2 separate regions of the Homo sapiens genome follow, and region 1 is linked to region 2. Evidence: promoter capture Hi-C in human tissues and cell types (Jung and others, 2019). All regions are on one chromosome and are shown on one strand. Each heading gives the region's core, a stretch centred on a gene start or on the middle of the fragment in contact. The rest is flanking DNA. Distances are from core to core; before and after follow the strand shown. Region 1 has its middle 19 kb from the start of ZNF135. Region 2 holds the start of ZNF418 (zinc finger protein 418).

Region 1 (3,801 bases), core at 844-3,343, 140 kb before region 2:
ATCCCTTGAGCCCAGGAGCCAGCCTGGGCAACACAGCTAGACCTCGTCTCTACAAAAAACTTAAAAATTAGCTGGGTGTGGTGGCATGTACCTGTAGTCCCAGCTGCGTGGGGGGCCGAGGTGGGAGGATGACATGAGCCCTGGAGGTCAAAGCTGCAGTGAGCTGTGATACACCACGCACTCCAACCTGGGTGACAGAGCAAGACGCTGTCTCAAAAAAAGAGAGGGAGGACCACGCACAGTGGCTCACGCCTGTACCAGCACTTCGGGAGGCTGAGGCAGGTGGATTACCTGAGGTCAGGAGTTCGAGACCAGTCTGGCCAATATGGTAAAACCCTATCTCTACGAAAAATTAGCCAGGTGTGGTGGCAGGCATCTGTAATCCCAGCTACTTGGGAGGCTGAGGCAAGAGAATAACTTGAACCTGGGAGGTGAAGGTTGCAGTGAACTGAGATCACACCACCGCACTCCAGCCTGGGCGACAGAGCGAGACTCCATCTCAAAAAAAAAAAAAAAAAAGAGATAGCAAGAGACGCCAGAGATTGCTCCCTCTCCATGCACACACAGAGGAAAGGCCATAGGCAGGTGCAGACACAGCAGGATGGCAACCATCTACAAGCTTGGAAGAGAGGCTTCACGTGGAACCCACTCTGACTTCCAGCCTCCAGAACAGGGAGAAAATATTAATAAATTCCTGTTGATTCAGCTTCCCAGCCTGTGGTATTTTGTGATCACAACCCAAGCAGACAAATACATGTCTGCCATCACTATTTGAGTTGAGGAGAGTTTTATGAATCAGTGTCAACTAGTGCAATCATTTTGGAAAGCTAACAGTCCAACTGTATTCAGTAACAATACGGGGCCAGGCACAGTGGTTCACACCTATAATCCCAACACTTTGGGAGGCCAAGGTGGGAGGATCCCTTGAGCCCAGGAGTTCAAGACCTCCCTGGGCAACATAGTGAGACCCCACTTTTTCCTCCACAAAAAGGAAAAAAAAGGACCAAAAATATATATATACACAAGGATGCTGGTTTGCATGAAGTTAAATACTATGACTTAAATATGAATGGTAGAGCCATTCAAAGCAATAGTAAAAAGGCATAAATGATAATTAAGACTAGCAAAATCGAAGAATTTTTTTTTTTTAGACAGAGTCTCGCTCTCGCTCTGTTGCCCAGGCTGGAGTACAATGGCGTGATCTCAGCTCACTGCAACCTCCGTCTCCCAGCTCCAAGCAATTCTCCTGCCTCAGCCTCCGGAGTAGCTGGATTACAGGTGCGCACCACCACACCTGGCTAATTTTTGTATTTTTAGTAGAGACGGGGTTTCATCATATTGGTCAGGCTGGTCTCAAACTCACGTCCTCATGATCCACCCGCCTCAGCCTCCCAAAGTGCTGGGGATTACAAGCGTTAGCCACCGCGCCCGGCGCTGGAAGAGTAATTTGTAAGTGTAGTTCAAGTAGAATGTAACTGTTGATTCTGTTGCAACTGTGTAAACAGTGGGCATTAGTTGTCAAATCCTAGCAGACAAAGTATAGAAATGCAAAGAGTAGTTGTGTTAGGGTCATGAAATTATGAGGACATTTATTTCAGTTTTTTAAATTCCTTTGAAAGTTTTTTTTGTTTTTTTTTTGAGACAGAGCCTCGTTCTGTCACCCAGGCTGGAGTGCAGTGGCACAATTTCAGCTCACTGGAAGCTCTGCCTCCCAGGTTCAAGCGATTCTCTCGCCGTGGTGTACTGAATAGCTGGGATTACAGGCCCCTGCCACCATGCCCGGCTAACTTTTGTATTTTTAGTAGAGATGGGGTTTCACCATGTTGGCCAGACTGGTCTCGAACCCCTGGCCTCAAGTGATCTGCCCACCTCAACCTCCCAAAGTGCTAGGTGTGAGCCACCGCGCCCAGCCATGGGCTTTTATAATAAAGTTCATTTTTCACCATTTTAAAAAGAATTCTCCCAATTATGTAAAAGTTAAAAACACAGATTCGGCCGGGCACTGTGGCTCATGCCTGTAATCCCAGCACTTTGACAGGCCCAGGTGGGAGGATCACCTGAAGTCAGGAGTTCAAGACCAGCTTGGCCAACATGGTGAAACCTTGACTCTAGTACAAATACAAAAAAATTACCTAGGCATGGTGGTGCGTGCCTGTAGTCCCAGCTACTTCAAGAGGCTGAGGCACAAGAATCATTTGAACCCAGAGGCAGAGGTTGCAGTGAGCCGAGATCGTGCCACTGCACTCCAGCCTGGGCAACAGACTACTCCTTTTGACATCTCAGTGTATTTATGTCTCCCAGTCATTTTTCAGGGTATGAGATGTGAGTATAATGTGTTTGGTATATGTGTAGTCTGCGTACATTCTAAGTGTGTCTCTTGGGTATCATGAAAAAATGAGTGAGGTGTCTGATGGGTCTCGGGAATACCCTGTGGACTTCCTTCAGGCAGATACAGAACAGGATAGGGTGATGTGCTTTTGATGCAAAGAAAGGCAGATACTCCATTCTGCCTACCCTGAGTCCAGTGAAGTCAGTGATTTATTAGTAGCTGTTCCTTCAACCTGAGAGGCTCCTGGGATGGGGCCACACTTGGGAACTATGGGCTTCGCAGACAAACTGCTTCAGGAAGTTTGGGCACAGTTCTCACTTGAGGCTTCCGGGTCTGTTTCAGAATCACCCAGTGCCTTGGTGTGCAGATTACCAAACCCCCTCGGACCAACCAAAGCAAGGTCCCAGGTTTAACACCCTCCACCTTCAGGTGGTTTTCACTCACATCAAAATGGGAGATCCATTACCCTTGGCAGTGCTGGGTTCTGTCTTCCCAGTGTCCATGCAGAAGTCTCTAAGACGAGGGTTGCTGGAACCAGGGGTCGATCCAGATTTGTTGGGCCTAAGGCTCACACAACTGAGGGGTCCCTCTTCAGAAGAATAATTCAAAATTACAAAGATAAAATTAGGCGCTTGGTCTTGAAGGGATCCCTGAAAGTGAGGGACCTAGAGTTTCAGCTTACTTTCATGGCAAATCCATGAAGCCAGAGCCTCAAAACATAGTGCAGCCCAGCCTTCCCTCAACTCGAGAGAACATGAATTTGTAGAAAGGTTCCCAGATGTCTCAATGAAATGAACAGCTTTCCAAAGTCCAGCCTCTGGCTGACCAGGTAGCTCTTGAGACACAGGCTCCTGAGGGACCAGCCACATGCGATGGGGGCAACTGCCAGGGAAATCTGCTCAGTGAGAGGGTGGCTTCTGGGACATGGTAAATCTAAGCTCCCCAGCTCCTCACCAAGGCCCCAGTACTGGGGAGGTCTCTCCAGCTGTGGCTCTGCCTGTCTTTTCACGGAGGTTTGCCCTGATGCCATGGTTTTAATGTGACGTCCCTCACCCCATTCACCAAACACAATAATCCCCAAGTTGTTATCATCTCTGGGCTGGTATTCATCTTATCACTTTTTTTTTTTTTTTTTTTTTTGAGACAAAGTCTTGCTCTTGTCGCCCAGGCTGGAGTGCAGTGGCACAATCTCGGCTCACTGCAAGCAATTCTTCTGCCTCAGCCTCCCGAGTAGCTGGGATTACAGGCTTCTGCCACCATGCCTGGGTAATTTTTGTATTTTTTAGTAAAGACAGGGTTTCACCATGTTCTCCAGGCTGGTCTCGAACTCCTGACCTCAGGTGATCCACCCGCCTCAGCCTCACAAAGTGTTGAAATTACAGGTGTGAACCACTGCGTCTGGCCCGTCTTACTGTGTTTTCTCCGCTATGACTCACCTTGCTTTTCTTCTGATGACTTGCTTTGCCTATCTT
Region 2 (3,687 bases), core at 94-2,593:
TAATCACTTCCCAGGAAAGATAACAAGCTCGATAATTTAACATACGCCTAGTGTCTCCAGGTGGAGATTATCACCACCATTACCAATACCAAGCTGAGATTTCTCTTTCATTGTTCTTTACCTGAGACTGACTTCAAGTTCCTAAAATGAGTTGAAAATATAAGTTAGAATACCAAGTAAGGGATATTACATGAATAAATGTTTTGCTGAATGAATTGGACACAATAATTGACTATATAAGCAGGAGAGTTGTTTTTCCATGGGAACGACTGATTGACCTTTGTACTCTTTCTTTAGCCTCTCCTCTATCTTCCTTGGCATGGTCCTATCTGGATTAGTTCTCTTTTGTCCCTGGCAGACTGAAAAACCAACTCTAATGCCTCAGAGTGAGGCAGGAGAATAGGGAATTAGGGTAACCAAGAATGAAGGCATAAGCAAAAGAACAGCAGGTGCAGCTAGTTCTAGGCAAGATGAGGCAGCACACAGGCCACGTCCTCACTCCTGTGGTAACAAGACAGAAGTCTCCACTTCAGCCTCTGATTGGTTGTGCACCAGTCCTTCATAGGATTGGAGGCCTTTAAAGAACTCTTGGGGTATTATAAAATTCTAGCTTATTCATGGCAAAAACCGCAATTACTTTTGCACCAACCTAATAAAACCCTAAAAAACATTGTAATCGGGGTTCTTGAGCCGCTTGGTCGCCTGCTCCCACACCTACATTCCACTTCTGTGGAGTGTACTTTCCCCTCAATAAATCTGCGCTTTCATTGGTCCGTTCTTTCGTTGCTTTTTTTGTGTGTTTTGTTCACTTCTTTGTTCAATGCGCCAACAACTGGACAACTCACAGCCAAGACATTCTATCCGGTAACAAGAGTGCATTCATGTGAATTATAACAGAGTAATGTTTATCAGCCTCTGCTTCCAGTGCAAGCATTCTGTGTCTAAACGATTGTATAAAGTGATACACGAATTTGGATTTGTAGCCTTTGGGGGCCTTCACAGTATTTTTAGCGCCTGGGAGCTTGAATTTACAGAAATGTGAATTAATATTTTTGCAAACACTTAGGTGGTCAGTTACAAACAGGGATTCCCCAGGAATCTCAATATGGCCTCTAAGGAGGGGCGAGACCATCCTCTGCCCTAAAAGGGTACGCGCTTTAATGAACCCCCTGAGGTAGGGCTGGGACTTCCCTGCAGAAGCGCCTTTGGGAAGCGGCAGCTTTACTACCTTGGAACCTGGGGAACTACATTACCCAGAAAGCTCTACATTGAATGACAGCGCAACAGAACCAGTAAGGGCTCAGAATAAAGGCGTTTCTGTGTGCGCACGTAACGTAGTGGCGGGATTCTCAGCGTTCTCTGGTAGCGACCATTTTGGTTAATGTTGGGTGTGTTTCTGCGGTTTGTGAGGTGAGAGGCGCTGGAGCTATGGGTCCGAACCGCGGTGTCTGAACCCAGAAGGTGAAGAGTCCTTCTTGCTGCACAGAGGCAGATCTTAGGCCCCGTAACGGCGCCCGCCGCTCCCGGCAGTGCTTTCCCCGCGTACTCGGGATGGCGGCGGCCGCGCTGAGGCTCCCGGCTCAGGTAATTGTGCCTTCCCTGCCCTCAGGTCACCTCATCCTAACCCGAATCCTGAAGCAGCGAGAGAGCGGCGACTGTTCACAGGTCTGCAGCCCGGACCCGGCGTCGGGACACTGAGGCGTTCGCGGGAGAGGTCCTTGTTTCTGACACCTGTGGGATGCGGTGGGGAGAGCGACAGGCACAGGGACCGGCGCGGGCTATGGCCTGGAGGACAGACCCGGGAGGATGGAACCTGGGGTCCACAGGCGCCTGTAGGGAACAACGTGTGAGGCGAAGCTTCTCCTGGAAGAGCAGGCTGGGGGCTGTGTATTCGCTGTGAAGACGCTAGAAGCCATGGAGAGTTTCGAAGAAAGGAGGGATGCGATCCAAGTCCAGGCTTTTAAGGTTTCCCAAAGGCCAAAGGAAGAACATAGTAGAGGAGATGAGGACCTTAGGGTTCTGGGAGGTTGACTCCTTTGTTGATAGATCACATAGGTGGTAGAGATGACATTTTGCACTGAGACACGCAGGTCAACCAGTCTGAGGTCACCTGGCTCCAGCGATAAGAAAAGGTTCAAGGAGACCTGAGCTTATCAGATCCCCTTTGTAACGTCTGCTTTCCCCTCAGACACTCCTGGCTACAAAAGCACGTAAAGAACCCACTGAGGGGGTCGGGCAAGGTGGCTCCCACCTGTAATCCCAGCACTTTGGGAGGCCGAGGCGGGCGGATCACCTGAGGTCGGGAGTTCGAGACCAGCCTGACCAACATGGAGAAACCCCGTCTCTAACAAAAATACAAAATTAGCCAGGCGTGGTGATGCCGCATGACTGTAATCCCAGCTACTCAGAGGCTAAGGCAGGAGAATTGCTTGAACTCGGGAGGCAGAGGTTGCGGTGAGCCATTGCACTCCGGCCTGGGCAACAAGAGCGAAACTCTGGCTCAAAAAAAGGAACCCACAGAGGGAATTAGAGGGTGTTCCATTCCCTCACTGGCCTTATTCCCCATTCACATGTTCTCTAGCTTGTGATGTCCTGGGACTCTTACTTGCCATTTTTTCAGTCCTTTGATCTGAGAACACTGGAGAAACCCTAAACCCAGAATCCTAAGTCCATGACACAGGATGTATGGAGGTATTCCCATTTCTGTCAACCCATGTAAACATACTTTGAAGGTTAACTACAGAGTTGGTACCAGGTCATGAAATGCTTAGAGGTAAAAATTCGGTGGGGAGGCAAGAGGGCGGCGAGGAGGTGATGTTACCACAGTCCCATTTGTCTGCAGGCATCATCTGGCTGCAAAGAAGAGAACACACTGTGTTTGAGGGAGGAGGAAGGAGGATCAGAGTTTAAACTCCTGCCATAATGCAGGTGAGGGTTACTGGACCATATTAATGAGTAAGGAGCTGTGGCTGGATTCAAGATTCACAGTTTGTAAAATGGCAACTAGATTTTCCTTTTTTTTTTGAGCGGGAGTCTCGCTCTATCGCCCAGGCTGGAGTGCAGTGGCACGATCTTGGCTCATTGCAAGCTCTGCCTCCCGGGTTCACGCCATTCTCCTGCCTCAACCTCCCGAGTAGCTGGGACTACAGGCGCCCGTCACCATGCTCAGCTAATTTTTTGGATTTTTTAGTAGAGACGGTTTCACTGTGTTAGCCAGGATAGTCTCAATCTCCTGACCTCGTGATCCATCGGCCTCGGCCTCCCAAAGTGCTGGGATTACAGGCATGAGCCACCAAGCCCGGCCATGCCCGGCTAATTTTTAATATTTTTAGTAGAGATGGGGTTTCACCGTGTTAGCCAGATGGTCTTGATCTCCTGACCTCGTGATCTACCCGTCTCGGCCTCCCAAAGTGCTGGGATTACAGGCGTGAGCCACCAAGCCCGGTCGGTAACTAGATTTTCTAATAGACTGTGAGGGCATGAAAGGGGAATCAGGTATGACCACCAGGTTTTTGGTCTTAGCATCTGCAGTGATGGAAGCTGCATCAACTGAGATGAGCACATAGTAGGTATAATATTCATTGGGGATGTGAAGAATGTTGTTTTGACCATGTTAAGAGTCTGAGATAGTTTAGCCTCCATTATGACATTGACACACTTCAAATTTTCATGGTAAATCTTTTGTGG

What was found. The method cuts DNA at HindIII sites, captures the fragments that hold promoters and counts their contacts. A contact is called where the count stands out against the background at its distance.
Region 1: a contact is called between a fragment that was not itself captured here and the fragment with the promoter of ZNF418 in region 2, in 2 of the 25 tissues and cell types used here (bladder and heart right ventricle).

What each region holds. Positions count from the first base shown.
Region 1 is chr19:58,076,340-58,080,140 of GRCh38, reverse strand. No RefSeq gene overlaps it. Among named protein-coding and RNA genes, the nearest start is that of ZNF135, 19 kb to the right of the region's middle. The HindIII fragment of the contact is 6,468 bases long and covers 1-3,801 here.
Region 2 is chr19:57,933,058-57,936,744 of GRCh38, reverse strand. It overlaps ZNF418 (zinc finger protein 418), which reads left to right and starts at 1,343. Exons shown (of 6, transcript NM_133460.3): 1 at 1,343-1,584; 2 at 2,843-2,928. The coding sequence starts at 2,923. RefSeq lists enhancers at 1,376-1,465, 1,058-1,940. The HindIII fragment of the contact is 9,006 bases long and covers 1-3,687 here.